4 separate regions of the Homo sapiens genome follow, and regions 2, 3 and 4 are each linked to region 1. The links are contacts of gene promoters, found by promoter capture Hi-C in human tissues and cell types (Jung and others, 2019). All regions are on one chromosome and are shown on one strand. The core of a region is centred on a gene start or on the middle of the fragment in contact, and the rest is flanking DNA. Distances in the headings are between cores, read along the strand shown.

Region 1 (3,718 bases), core at 564-3,063:
CTACTGCATCCCTCACCTTGGTCTCCAGTGCAGGCCAGGCTACTTATGCTCTACAGCCCTCTCCTCTTGCTGACACTATAAGATATAATAAAATTCCTCTTCAAAGGTTTAGCCTGTTAACTTCCTTGTTCTTTGTTCTCAAACCTTTCTTGTTCTCCATGCCTCCTTGCCCCTAGTTACTATAAACAACCTTCCTGTAAGCACTAACCAATAATTCACATCTGTTCCCTTACTCACTTTGCACCCATTGCCCCCGCCAAAACCACACGTCCTACACAACTCACATGTCCCACCACTGTAACTCACCTTCCCCTTCCCTCTTCCTTATTTGGAAAATACTCACAAATACCCAATTGGCTCAGCTTAGATTAAGCGGTCCGACCCCAGCCCATGGGGGAGTGACACAGAGGAAGGTAGGGACTATGGGTTAGAGATAAAAACCCCTTCCCTCCTTTGTTCAGTGTGCTCTTGGGATCGTGATTAACACAGGCAGCACACTTGCACAGAAGTAAATTGCCTTGCTGAGAAAACTTTTGCCTGAGTGCTGGTTTCACTTTGCAGCACCAAGCATTGACTTCCAACAACACCATCTAGAATGCTTTCACATGCCAGGACCCCTCCTTTCTGGAAGGAATCTTAAGTGTCCACCCCTTCATCCCTGGCCTTCCACCCTAAACCCACCTCTCACTTCAGAGACCACACAAAATAACTTCCTTGAAATTCCACCCTCTAAATCTGATCTACTACAGGCTTTGACCTTATGCCTCACCCATTGAAGTCTCTAGCACAACTCCCTCTCTAGAACCCCAGACCTGCATGTTCAGCTACCCGTGATGAACCTCCAGTGCAGAACACCTTAGATTCACCAAGTCCAAAACCCAATTCCTGATGCCCCTGAAACGTGCTCCCTGCTGTGACTTACCAATTTCCATTCTTTCACACGTTCAGGAAGGAAAACAGGCCAAAAAAACCCTGGATAGCCCTTTCCTCCCTACATTCACTCACGACCACATCTGATGCGGCAGGAAACCCCATTGGTTCCATCTTTAAAAATCTACCCAGAATCTCATGACTTCCCCACCCAACCCCTCCTGCCACTGCTCTGGCCCAGCCACCACCGCAACACTTCTGGAGTTTGTTGCAGGGACCTCCTCAAACGTCTCCTTGCCTCCATCCTCATCGTTTCTACCTCACTGTAGTCGGTTTCCTCCTCAGCAAACATTGGAATACTTTAAAAATCCTTTTTCGGATCCCTTCCCTCCACCATTCAAAACCCGCCATGGCTCCTATCGTCCTCGCAATGAAGGAGCAACTTCTCCCCTCGACATTGCAGGCCTGACTACGGTTCACACACGCTCCCGACTGCTACGGGCTCAGTCCAGCTCCAAACCTATGCTCAGGCTGCCCCTCTGCCAGTCACACTCGCCCCCACCCACCAGCGCCCCGCTGCCTTGGACACTGGGGCCTGCGCTGCAGGGACTCAGACAGGCGCTCCTCATTTGGAACTTCAGGATTTGGGGCGGGCGAAAGTCTGGGAAAGGCAGCACCCACCTGCGCCGGGCCCATCACCGCGGCCGCCGCCATCACAGTTCGTAGACCACCCGGAGCCGCGAGGGGGTCCCAGGTCGCGGGACCCTGGCACCGCGGTCGTCCGTCCCCGGGGGCGCAGGCGGGGTCTTCGCTGGCGAGCCACTCCGCAGAGCGAACAGCGACTTCTCCCGCACCCTCCCGCTTCCGTCACCTCGGAACCGCCCAGCAACCCCGAGCTTCTGCTCCGATGGTTCCACCTAAGAGCCGACAAGATGTCCACCGCGAGGAAGATACCGGAAGTCCCGCCCAGAGAGCTTCCGTCCGCAGGGAGACGCCCCTAAGAGTGCCGCCGCCGGGCGGCGCACAGGTTTCTGGGCAATGCAGTTCTCATGTGCACTTGGCCGTGGTGACGGCTAACTCCCCTGCACGCTGGGCAAAGGCCAAATGGTACTGCGAGGGGCGCTGAGAAATTATGCCCTGAGACTCTGAGGTCAGGGCGTGGCTTCGCTCCTTTTAAAGGACCCTCAACCAGGTCTTGTGTAGTGAGGTCTGCAGGGATCCCCGAAATATTGGGATATATTCTTACAGATGTTCCCTGAAGCCACACCACCAAATGGACACACAACATCCAATGTCACTCTGAGTCCACTCATAGTTCAGTCAAATTTCCTTCATTTAAAAAATATGTGTACTGTAGAGGGAAGCTTTGAGTCAGTTTTGTGAGCCTCAGTTGGGTCAGAGTTAACAGAGAATTGTCCCCAGGCAGGGCCATGGAGTGGAAGAATGGTCTCCAGACAGTGGCTATGGAGGGATGCTGGAGCTCCCTGAGGCAAGTGGACTAATATAGAGCTCTTCCTCTGGTTTCCTCAGAAAAAAAATACCTGAGAGAACCATGAGGAGGAAGACAGGCGAGAGAAGGTGGTCAAGGAAGGCACCTTTCCTGCCTGTATGGTCACTAATGTCCAACCAAAGGAGAAATATTCTTTTATCCAAATGAGAGTTCCTAGCCCAAAAGTTGAGATATATCTATTTCCTTTTGGTGATGTTTCTTATCTGAAAAGAAGAACCATTATAAATGCTTTTATATGCCAAGACAGGGGCTGAAAATGTGGTGTCTGAACCCAGAAATAAAGATTTGGAAAATTGGGATCAGATTTCTTGGCTGGGAGGTGATTCTCATTTCACCTGCAATTACACCGACAGTGTCTGAATTGAGAATTGAGATTTATTTATGGTTTTAAAAAAGAAAAGGGCGAGTGTATGGGGAAAGAAAGACAAAAACATTTGTGAATTGTTTAAATTACTCAAAAGTTGTTTTGTGTTTTTTTTTTTTGAGACGGAGTCTTGCTCAGTCGCCCAGGCTGGAGTGCAGTGGTGCGACCATAGCTCACTGCAGGCTCCGCCTCCCAGGTTCACACTATTCTCCTGCCTCAGCCTCCGGAGTAGCTGGGATTACAGGCGCCTGCCACCATGCCCGGCTAACTTTTTGTATTTTTAGTAGAGATGGGGTTTCACCGTGTTAGCCAGGATGGTCTCGATCTCCTGACCTCGTGATCTGCCCGCCTCAGCCTCCCAAAGTGCTGGGATTACAGGAGAGCCCCCGCGCCCGGCCAAATTACTCAAAGTTAATAATTCTGTAGTTATTCACAGATACATGACGAAATGGACCTGGAGAAACATATCTGTGATAAGTGAAAACGGTTAAGATGACAGCAAAATTTGAGCAGGAGACATTGAATTCTGAGAAGTGAGCAAATGAAGCTGAGCACACAGCTGTGTTAGAACTATGACTACAAGCAGCGTTTAGTCTCCAAAATGTAATTTTATTTATTTATTTAATTTTGGAGACAGGATCTCACTGTGTTGCACAGGCTGGAGTGTAGTGGCACGATCATAGCTTGCTGCAGCCTCAAACTCTTGGGCTCAAGGGATCCTCCCACCTCAGCCTCCCAAAAAGTTGGGATTACAGATGTGAGCCACCATGCCAGGCCTCTTTTCATTCTTGAAAACACTCAATAATACCTGGAAGGAGAAGTAAAGAAAACATTTAGAAAGTGCTATCAGAATATTAAGGTGAACAGGGATGCTGTAGTATTATGCTTATTCATAGTTCTAAGAAATATTCAAGGAACACCTACTGTATTTCAGACACTATCTTAACTGCATGGGACATTTACAAAACAAGAGA
Region 2 (3,718 bases), core at 1,219-3,718, 240 kb after region 1:
ACAGAGCACAGAGGTCTCATGCATTTGAATAGAACACAGGGCCAGTGGGTCTCTATGTCACCTTCAACATTTCTGGATCCTGAGCCCTTTCTTGCAAGCCTCAGAACAGCAGAGGATGGGGCTGCCAGGAAAAAGGAAGCACACAGCACATATTGCAGTCCTGACTCTCATGGAACATATGTCAGGAAACAAGGAAAAGAAGCAGCACCCATGGTCTCACTGTGGGAAACGCAGAGCTGCCTTCAGGTAAAAGGAGACAACACAGCCCAACCCAGGACACTGGGCAAGTGTGAGGGCCTTACCTAGTGAGGACAAAAGGGCCAAATTCTCCAGCATCACATCACGGTACAGCAATCTCTGAGCCTCATCGAGATGCCCCCACTCCTCCTGGGAGAAATATATGGCCACGTCTTCAAAAACCACATGACCCTGCCAAATTGGGAAAGATGAATACATGAGCAGCTTTTCAAACTGTATTTACTTAAGTTCTCTATTTATTTTCTACTTATATTTACCACCCATTAAACACAGGGACAAACTAACAGCTAAATGTGTTTCCATCTCCCCTACCATCCTGGGCACATATTCTTAACCATCTCCATCTCTAACTTTCTCAAACCAAGTCAGTATTTCCCATGCTCTAAATCAACCCAGGGACAGGTACTGCACAACTAGGGACAGTCCCAATAGCCCAGGTGTCCTGGAATTACTAAAACTAGCCAAACTATCCTGACAGCCAGCCCTGCCTTGTTTCCCTTGGAAACCCCAACAGCATCTGTGGACTAAACTAAACTCACTCCAATTTTCCTCCTGATCAAATCTGGTGTTTCACCGTGTGGCCCTGTGTTATGTGGTATGTAACCTCCTTAGGGAAACGTAAGGAATAAATATCTTCTTTCAGTGTCATTGGCCTGTCCCTGGCATCACTCACTCACATCCATAAATTAAAACTCCATGGGGGCCAGGCACAGTGGCTCATGCCTATAATCCCAGCACTTTGGGAGGCTGAGGCGGGCAGATCACCTGAGGTCAGGAGTTCAAGACCAGCCTGGCCAACACAGTGAAATCCCATCTCTACTAAAAATACAAAAATTAGGTGGGCATGGCGGCACATGCCTGTAGTCCTAGCTACTTGGGAGATTGAGGCAGAACTGCTTGAATCCAGGAGGTGCAGGTTGCAGTGAGCCAAGATCATGCCACTGCACTCCAGCCTGGGTGACAACACAGCAAGACTCCATCTAAAAAAAAAAAAACAAAAAACCCCAATGGGTACAATCACTGCTACTTTTCTCTCTCCAGGAACTCATCCCTCTCCCCTACACCTCCTTTCCTTCCTCAATCTCTACACCCTCCCAATGTGGAAGAGAAACCACATCCAGGTGGCATGAGTGACTTTTCTCTCCATATTGACATTGGCCACCGTGTCCAGCACACAGAGGAAACAGATGGAAGATAAGGTAGAAAAGGAATGTGGGCCTCCCGTGGGGGGATCCATCCTCTCCTGCCAGCCAGTTTCCATGGAGTCACCCAGATCTTGCCTCCCAAGACAACCAAACTCAGACTCATCCTCCTCCCTTGAGCTACCAGGGCCAGGGCCTGAGGCCCTCCATTCACACTCCTCCTGCCTGCACATCACTCTTTGGACAGCACTCCAATCCCATCTCTCACACCTCCACTCCAGTCAATTCCACAGACACCTCCCAGCCCACACCACAGGCATTTCCTTCACCTCCTAACAGGCCACTCTGCACACAGAAACCAGGTGGTGCACGGCAAATACGCTCAGCATCCAATTCACTCCCAGTCCTGCCCCAGAACACCAAAGTTCCCTAGCACCGGGGGCAGCCCTAAGCCCTGGGTTGAAGGTTCCCTACATGGCCCTGTTTCTCACTTCACTGTCAGGTGCCCAAACCATGTGAGGACTTCACATACTCTCAGCTGTGTCCTGCCTCATGGACACAGGATTGTAAGTTTCCTGAGGCCTCCGAGTTATGCTTCCTGTTAAGCCTGAAGAACTATGGGCTGGGTGCGGTGGCTCACGCCTGTAATCCCAACACTTTGGGAGGCTGAGGAGGATGGATCACGAGGTCAGGAGATCAAGACCATCCTGGCCAACATGGTGAAAGCCCATCTCTACTAAAAATACAAAAATTAGCTGGGCGTAGTGGGGTGAGTCTGTCGTCCCAGCTATTCAGGAGGCTGAGGCAGAAGAATCGCTTGAACCTGGCAGGGAGAGATTGCAGTGAGCCGAGATTGTGCCACTGCACTCCAGCCTGGGCCACATCTCAAAAAAAAAAAAAAAAAAAAAAAAGAACTGTGAGTCAATTAAACTTCTTTTCTTCATAAAGTACCCAGTCTCAGGTAGTTCTTTGTAGCAATATGAAAACAGACTAATAGAATTCCCATCCTCATCTCATTCCAACTGATGCTTAGCAACTCTCCGACCTCACCCTATTACCCTCCTCAGCAACCCCATCATGTCCACTCTCCTTCAGAAGTCTTTCTCACTCCTATACCCCACCATCTCACATACACTCATCCCCACAAACACTCCATTCCCTCATTTGTCTAGTGACTCCTCCACCACTGCACAGCTACCCAGTAAGAGACCCAGTTCTCATGCCCCATTCCAATTCTCTGTCTTCGAACAGCACTGCCACCATAACCTAGAGATGCTGTCACCTAAACTGAATCCATGGCTTCATCCTGGTCCATACGACAGCCACCATAGTGTGGACGTCTCCAACCTGAACTCCTCCACCAGGAGTCTCTGAGACATCTGTGGCTTGAACAAACACTGACTCCTCACACTCACTCTGAAAATTCCTAATACTGCTGACTTCTCCCATCTTAGCTGATGGAGCATCTATGCTTCCAAACAAAAACCATGGGGCCACTCCTGATTCCCCTTCTATCCCACCCCCCCAGCTGCCTCACTCTCTACATCATAAAATGTGGGCAGCTCCAGTTCAAAACACATCCTGAAGCCACCGCTACTCTTGACAAGTCACCACCAACATCCACCTAGACTGCTGCAGGAACATCCTCTCAGATCTCCCTGCCATTACCCTCACCTCCACAGTCTGTCCTCCACTCAGACGCCAAAGAAAGTTCCTTAAGCTAGGGTCCTATCACTGCCCTCTTCTGCTTCAAATCTTCCCCATCTACCACCTCCCTTAGATTAGAGACCCAGGACCTAGGCTGTCATTCCAGGCCTGATGTTTGTGTGTCTCTAGCCACCTCCCACTCTGCTCCCTATTCCTATCCGATATAACAGACACTTGCAGTTCCCTAAAAATCCAGTTCAGTCTCTCCTCTAAACACTGAAACATTCTTAATCTTGTGCCCATGACACTCTGACAGATGTTACCACGTCAACTGTCAAAAATGGGAGCCACTCCACATAATCCAGGGCCATCCAGGTAAGGTGTCACAGTAAACTTAAAACAATCAAACAAAAATCCCAGACCTAATTTAAGATACTAGAACTGGTGGAATCACTCACTTTTCAGACATAAGAGAGGGAGAAAGACAGAAAGAGAGTCTCTGGACACCACTTTTCTTTACATGGAGGTGCCAAAACCATCTATGAGATAACTGGTAGGTGAAAGGTAGAAAACACTCCACTCACCTGTGCAGGGTTCATTTCTGCCATCGCCAGGGGACCCTGAAGGAAGAGGGAAACCGTGAGAAATGGGCAACGATGGGAAGATCTTAC
Region 3 (3,718 bases), core at 408-2,907, 190 kb after region 1:
AGATTGCACCACTGCACTCTAGTCTGGGCAACAGAGCAAGATTCTGTCTCAAAAATAATAATAAAAATAAAAATGTATTGTCGTCTAAGTACACAATGTCTATAAAGTCTACAGCACAGTAACAACCTAGGCCTTCACATTCACTTACCACTCACTGACTCACCTAGAGCAACTTGCAGTACTGTAAGCTTCATTCATGGTAAGTTCTCTGTGAGTCTATCATTTTTTCTTTTATACTGTATTTTTACTGTACCTTTTCTGTTTAGATATACTTAAAAACAATTACTTACCATGTGTTCCAACAGCCTACAGTATTCAGTACAGTAATATGCTATACAAGTTTGTAGCAAGGTGCTATAGGATATACCATACAGCCTAGGCATTCACGCAACCCCCCCACCACCAAAAAAAGAAAGAAAATCACCTAATAACACTTTTCTCAGGACACTTCCCCACTGTTAAGCAACACATGACTAACAGAATTTTATTCAGCCTTTAAAAAGGATGGAAATTCTAATGGATTAGAACATGAAACCTTAAAAATATAACGTTAAGCAAAATAAGCCACAAAATAAACCACAAGAAGACCAAAACTTAAGTTTTCTTATATGAGGTACCCGGACTAGTAAAATTCATACAGAGCGGTGCTTGTCAAGAGGCTGGATGGAGTGAGGAATAAGGTTTTAAAAGGTATAGACTTAGTTTCATAAGTTGAAAAGACTTCTAGATATTCATTGCACAATGTGAATGACTTAACAGTACTGAACTATACACTTTAACATGGTTAAGATGTTAGATTTTATGTTATCTGTATTCTACAAGAATACTTTTTTTAAAACGTAGGTCCCAGTGCTAAATCAGAGTAGATTTCTGTGTGAAGTCTTTCCCCATCTGCTTTATATATACATTCTTTATCTGGTGTGAACTTTCTGGTGCTGAATGAGATGAGAATTTTGGTTAAAGACTCTTCCACATTCACTGCACTGATAAGGTCTCTCTCCAGTGTGAATTCTCCGATGTTTAATGAGGCTGGAGTTGTATCTAAAGACTTTCCCACATTCACTGCACTCATAAGGCTTTTCTCCAGTATGAACTCTCTCATGACTAATGAGTGTGGAGCTGTCCATAAAAAATTTCCCACATTTGCTGCATTTGTAAGTTCTTTCCCTAGTGTGAACTTTTTGGTGCCGAATGAGGTGGGAATTTTGGCTAAAAACTCTCCCACACTCAGTGCACTCAAAAGACCTTTCTCCAAAGTGATTTCTCCGATGTCTAATATGATTTGAGTTGTGCCTAAAGAATTTCCCACATTCACTACACTCATAAGGCCTTTCACCAGTGTGAATTCTCTGATGTGTATCAAGTGTGGAGCGACATCTAAAGGATTTCCCACAAATGCTGCATTCAAAAGGTCTTTCTCCAGTGTGAACTCTCTGATGACTCTTCAGTGTACAGCTGTCCACAAAGAATTTGCCACATTCACTGCATTCATAAGGCCTCTCTCCAGAGTGAACTCTCTGATGTCTATTCAGTGTGAAGCAATACCTAAAGAATTTCCCACATTTGTTGCATTCATAAGGCTTTTCTCCAGTATGAACTCTCTGATGAATAATGAGTGTGGAAGTGTCCATAAAGAACTTCCCACATTCACTACACTCATAAGGCTTTTCTCCAGTGTGAACTTTCTGATGTCTAATGAGTGTGGAACGGTATCTAAAGAATTTCCCACATTCGTTGCATTCATAAGGTTTTTCTCCAGTATGAACTCTCTGGTGAATAATGAGTGTGCAGCTGTCCATAAAGAATTTCCCACATTCACAGCAATAAAAAGGCCTTTCTCCAGTGTGAACTTTCTGATGTCTAATGAGTGCTGAACTGTACATAAAGTATTTCCCACATTCATTGCATCCATAAGGCCGTTCTCCAGTATGAATTTTCTGGTGACCAACAAGGTGAGCCTGTGTAAGGAAGGCCTTCCCACATTCACTACACACATAAGGCCTTGGCCTGGTGTGAATCCTCTGGTGCTGAAGTAGGTGAGACTTTCTAAGAAAAGCTTTCCCACATTCACTGCACTCATAAGGCCTTTCTCCAGTGTGAATTTTCTGGTGTTGAACAACATTGTATTTGAGGCTGAAGGCTTTTCCACATTCACTACACTTATAAGGCCTTTCTCCAGTATGATTTCGCTGATGTTTAATAAGGTCGGAGTTGTACCTAAACAATTTGCCACATTCACTGCACTCATAAGGCCTTTCCTCTGTGTGGATTTTCTGGTGCTCAAACAGTGTATGTTGGTGGCAAAAGTCTTTCCCACATTGGGTGCAGCTGTAATTATTCTGTCCACTTTGAAAGGCCTCCACACCATGAGTGTCCCTGTGTGGCTTCCACCCACTGTGAAGAGCCTGTTGTTGAAGATCTGAATCACCAGTAAAATCCTTGCCACCCTGCATGCATGTGAGGTTCCTCTTTGCCAGGTGAACACTGTCATTCACAAACGAAGGCCTCCCTTCATCACTTCTGGTGAGCTTCTCTCTAAGATGCTCCTTTTGGTGCAGGTAAAGCTTGGCTGTACGCTTGGGGTGTGTTCCGTCATGCTCAGCCAGGTGTAGAATGTCCTTCAGAAGTGAGCTACATGTCTCACAGGGCTGGGCCTTCTGGGTGGACAAAGCTGGCTTTAAAGTTGTGACCTGTGACACTCCTACAGAAACACATTGCTTGGAAGGTGCCTCCTCATCCTTGGCTCCATGCCAACAACCTAAAACAGAAATGCTCATGAAGTGCATGATGACTTTGGAGGGAAGAGGCAGCCCCATAACAAATGTCTGTCAGACCAACTCACAAATAAGACCATGGGATTGGTGACAGGCATGGGACATTAAAGCCAGTGAGAGGAAAGCCTACTGGGCAGAACCGGGACTGACAGAAACCCATAACGAAAGAGTCCTGATGATGGGGAACAACATAGGGAGTGGTACAGTGCAGAGCACAGAAGTGGAGTCCCCAAGTTACTCCTCAGTGAATGGCTTTCAACAGGCCATAGCTTCTGGTGAACAATGTGTAGAAGACTGTGTCCAGACCCAGAGAGATCTGATGTGACAGTAGAGCTGGTGTTCAGGGACTGCTGAAATATATACATCCAGACCTCACAACACCTTAAGTACAGGTCATATGTTGAGGGCACTACAAAGGGAACAGTAAAAGGAACAGGTGGCTGGGTGCAGTGGCTCACACCTATAATCCCAGAACTTTGGGAGGCCAAGGCAGGCGGATCAGCTGAGGTCAGGAGTTCGAGACCAGCCTGACCAACATGGAGAAACACCGTCTCTACTAAAAATACAAAATTAGCCAGGTGTGGTGGCGCATGCCTGTAATCCCAGCTATTTGGGATGCTGAGGCAGAAGAATCGCTTGAACCCGGGAAGCAGAGGTTGCAGTGAGTCAAGATCGCGCGCACCATTGCAAGAGCGAAACTCCATCTCAAAAACAAAAACAAAAACAAAAAAAAAACAAAAAACGGGAACAGGTGAGAGGTGGAGGCCAGAGACGTAGGGTCAGAGGTGGGAGCCAGGAGATGAAAGTCAAAAGAGAGATCACAATAGGGAAGAAAAGAGAGACATGCGGTGTGGCCACTGGCAGGGGCATCAAACTGGATTGATTCCCAGTGTGATGTGAACCCAGCCCTGTCATCACACCCCTTCTGAGCTCCCATCCACCAG
Region 4 (3,718 bases), core at 702-3,201, 140 kb after region 1:
TTTTGCAATAAACTGCACATATTTATAGTGTACCATTTGATAAGTTTTGATACATGTTGGCACTTCTCAAACCAAAAGTTTCCTGATTCCTTTTATATTTTCTCCCTTTCCTTCACCCATCCCCAGGCAACTATTGATCCGTTGTCACTGTAGATTTGTTTGTATTTCCTAGAATTCTACAGAGATAGAGTAATTTAATATGTATTCTAATGTTTTTGGCTTCTTAAACTCTGAAATTAAGGCTCATGGTGGTGTTCTGTGTTTCATAGTTCATTTCTTTTCATTTGTACTTTGCTAAGAGTGTTCCATTGTAGAGAAATAGTTTCAAAGCAAGTGATCCAGGAGAGAACTCACACAAGAACAAAGCCACAGTATCTGTCATTACCTTAAACTGAAAGTGATGAGCCGTCATTTCTGCTATATTTCATAAGTAACCCTAGCTAATCCTGGTTAAAAGTGGAAGAGAACTACACAAAGGTGAAAATAGGGATTTGTGGGGCGTTTTCTTGGACTCTGGTGACCATAATCCTATATGGTTTTTTTCTTTTTCTGTTTTAGTTGTTTAATATGAATTACATTGACTGATTTTTTTAAATGTTAAGCCAACCTTGCATTTCTGTAATAATTCCCATTTGGTCATGATGTATTAGTCATTTAGTATATTGTTGAATTTGATTTGCTATTTTGTTTTGTTTTGTTTTGTTTTTTTGTAACAAGTTTTGCACCAATGTTCACGAGTGATATTTGTCCCTAACTTTCTTTCTTGCTTGCTTGCTTTTTTTTCTTTGTAATTTTATATCTTGCCCAGGTTTGGCTTTGGTATCAGCATAATGCCAGCTTTATAGAGTAAGTTGGGAAGTATTCCTGCTCTTCAGCTCTCTGGAAGAGTTTGTGAATAATTGGTATTATTTCTTCCTTAAATGTTTGGTAGAATTCACCAAGGAAGCTGTCTGGGCCTGGAGTTTGTTTTGTAGGAAAGTTTCTAACTATAAGTTTGATTTCTGTGGTAGATAGAGGGCTGTACAAGTTATATGTACATCTGTCTGTGTGTGTGTTGTCTGTCTGTCACTCTGGCCCTGAAGTGTGTTTTGTAGGACAGCATCTAACTACAAGTTTGATTTCCATGGTAGATGGAGGGCTATACTAGTTATATATACATCTGTCTGTCCGTCCATCTGTTTGTCACTCCATCCATCCATCTATCTCTAGAGTGAGCTTTGATGGTTTGTGTCTTTCAAGGAGTTTTTCTGTTTTATTTAAGTACTCAAATTTTTCAAAATATTATTTTCATACTTGTAGAATTTGTAGTGGTGCAACCTCTTCTATTCCTGATACTGGTAATGTCTATATTTTTCTTTTAACCTTGATTGGTTTGGGTAGAGATTTATCAATTTTACAATTTTATTGATCTTAAAGTACTTGGTATTATTGAATTTTCTGTTTTCTGATATTTTGGGATTTTTCTTTTCCATTTTGAGTTTTACTAATGCCTTCCGCTTTTATTGGATTTCATTTCTTTTGCTACTTTTTAACATGGAAGCTGAGGTCCTTCATTTCAAACCTTTGGGTTTTTTTCCCCTAATATGGGGAAGAGATGTTAATGTTAAAAATCTATCTGAGAACTGCTTTAATTACCTCCCATCAAGCTTGATGTGGTTTCATTTTTTTTTTTGAGACAGTGTCTTGCTCTGTCATCCAGGTTGGAGTGCAGTGGCGCGATCTCGGCTCACTGCAAGCTCTGCCTCCTGGGTTCACACCATTCTCCTGCCTCAGCCTCCCGAGTAGCTTGGACTACAGGCGCCTGCCACCATGCCTGGCTAATTTTTTGTATTTTTAGTAGAGACGAGGTTTCACCGTGTTAGCCAGGATGGTCTCGATCTCCTGATCTTGTGATCCGCCTGCCTCAGCCTCCCAAAGTGCTGGGATTACAGGCGTGAGCCCAGCCGATGTGGTTTCATTTTAGTTGAGTTTAGGATGTTTTCCAGTTAAAAAAATTCTTCTTGACACATGGCTCTTTTTAAATGTATGTTATTTAATTCCTAAATATTTGGGGATTTTGCTTATCTTTCTGGTAGTTTCTGCAATAATTCCATTGTGGTCAGAGTACATTAAGACTTGAATTATTTACATTTATTGAGATTTGCTTTGTGGCCCAGAATATGGGCTATCTTGGTATGAGTTACATGTTCACTTGAAATGTATACTGTACTCTCGTTTGATGAAGGGGTTCTACAAGTGTTGATTAGGTAAAAATGGTTGATGTTATTTAAGTTTTTTCTATCTTTATTGACATTCTGTGGTTTTGGTTCCAGCAATTATTTTAAGAGGATTGTTGACATCTCTGAATATTAAATTGGATTTACTTCTCTGCAGTTCTGTCAGATTTTGCTTCACATATTTTAGTATGTTTTTATTAGGTGAATAATAAATATTTCCTATTTTATGTCCACTTGATGTGTTGACCACTTTATCATTATGATCCTGTTAATCTCTGGTAATATTCTTTCTCTAAAATCTCCCTTGTCTGATACTGTTAACATGGTTTAATTTTGAATGGACACTGAATTTTAGGTACTGATTTTTTTTTAATTTTCTATAGATATTCTTGATTTCTTTTTTCTGTTACATGGTTAAGTTACTTGGAAACAATATGATCTTTTGGGGAGTCTTGATTCTAAACATTTCTCGATGAGATTATTGCAGCATACATTTTAAGACAAATTCCCCTCCCATTACTGAGACACAACCTTCCTATATTCTCTACCTAATGCTTCATGAGTTATGAGTTTTTTTTACTCAAGCTGGTTGAAATGAGAACTATCATGTTTTCTGTATAAGCCTTGGGAATTGCTTCCCGTATAATCCTTTCAGGTGGTTCTTTACCCATCCTCTGGTCTTTTTCTATATGCAAACACAGATTATACTCAGCTGAATACTTGGGGATGGCCCTCTATATCTCTGAAGTTTTTTCTCTCCTGTACTCTGCTCTGTAGACTCCAGCTACCTTGGCAAACCGAGACTCTTAGCTATGTCTCCTTAACACAGGATGACTTTTGGGCTCTGAGCTCTCCATCTTTGTACTAGGGCCTCAGAATTAATTTTCACAGTAACCTTATTTAGTTTTTTCTTTTTTGAGAAAATCTATGAACCCATGTTTTTTCTTTCTGATATAGTGGAAGGTCTATCAATTTTAATAATTTATTCAAGGTGTCTCCTTTTTTTAATCAGAAAGAACGTAAATCACATATTACAGATAGGAGCAATGAAACATAGTATAGTACTAGATAACTTTGAAACATATAATGGATAATGTGTGATTGTTTTAAACAACCCTTTCTCAGTAAGTTGAAACTTGGAAAACAAAAATCCATTGAAAGATACCAACTGACCAGGCTCACTCGAGATCTGAAAAATCCTCTACTAAAGATATTTAATACATATATCTATATATCTCTTAGAGAGAAAGAATAAGTCATATTCTAGTGAGATTTGTTAGGATTTTTTTTTTTTTTGAGACGGAGTCTCCCTCTATTGCCAGGCTGGAGTGCAGTGGCGCGATCTCAGCTCACTGTAACGTCCGCCTCCTGGGTTCAAGCAATTCTCCTGCCTCATCATCCTGAGTAGCCGGGATTACAGGTGCACGCCACCATGCCCAGCTAATTTTTGTATTTTTTGTAGACACAGGGTTTCATCATGTTGGCCAGGATGGCCTTAATCT

Evidence for each region. The method cuts DNA at HindIII sites, captures the fragments that hold promoters and counts their contacts. A contact is called where the count stands out against the background at its distance.
Region 2: a contact is called between a fragment that was not itself captured here and the fragment with the promoter of ZNF134 in region 1, in 2 of the 25 tissues and cell types used here (dorsolateral prefrontal cortex and hippocampus).
Region 3: a fragment that was not itself captured here is called in contact with the fragment with the promoter of ZNF134 in region 1 in 1 of the 25 tissues and cell types used here (bladder).
Region 4: a fragment that was not itself captured here is called in contact with the fragment with the promoter of ZNF134 in region 1 in 1 of the 25 tissues and cell types used here (neural progenitor cells).

Annotation. Positions count from the first base shown.
Region 1 is chr19:57,612,337-57,616,054 of GRCh38, reverse strand. It overlaps ZNF134 (zinc finger protein 134), which reads right to left and starts at 1,813. Exons shown (of 3, transcript NM_003435.5): 1 at 1,552-1,813. It also overlaps a transcript of ZNF530 not described here. RefSeq lists a silencer at 1,559-1,608 and an enhancer at 1,739-1,918. The HindIII fragment of the contact is 8,655 bases long and covers 1-3,718 here.
Region 2 is chr19:57,368,493-57,372,210 of GRCh38, reverse strand. ZNF547 (zinc finger protein 547) reads right to left here. Exons shown (of 4, transcript NM_173631.4): 2 at 3,632-3,667; 3 at 303-429. The coding sequence starts at 3,655. Among named protein-coding and RNA genes, the nearest start is that of ZNF547, 6.8 kb to the right of the region's middle. The HindIII fragment of the contact is 8,803 bases long and covers 1-3,718 here.
Region 3 is chr19:57,418,675-57,422,392 of GRCh38, reverse strand. It overlaps ZNF17 (zinc finger protein 17), which reads right to left. Exons shown (of 4, transcript NM_001330617.2): 4 at 459-2,758. The coding sequence ends at 912. Among named protein-coding and RNA genes, the nearest start is that of ZNF17, 9.4 kb to the right of the region's middle. The HindIII fragment of the contact is 3,428 bases long and covers 1-3,371 here.
Region 4 is chr19:57,468,317-57,472,034 of GRCh38, reverse strand. It overlaps ZNF772 (zinc finger protein 772), which reads left to right. Exons shown (of 4, transcript NM_001144068.2): 4 at 1-2,449. Among named protein-coding and RNA genes, the nearest start is that of ZNF772, 7.4 kb to the left of the region's middle. The HindIII fragment of the contact is 7,443 bases long and covers 1-3,718 here.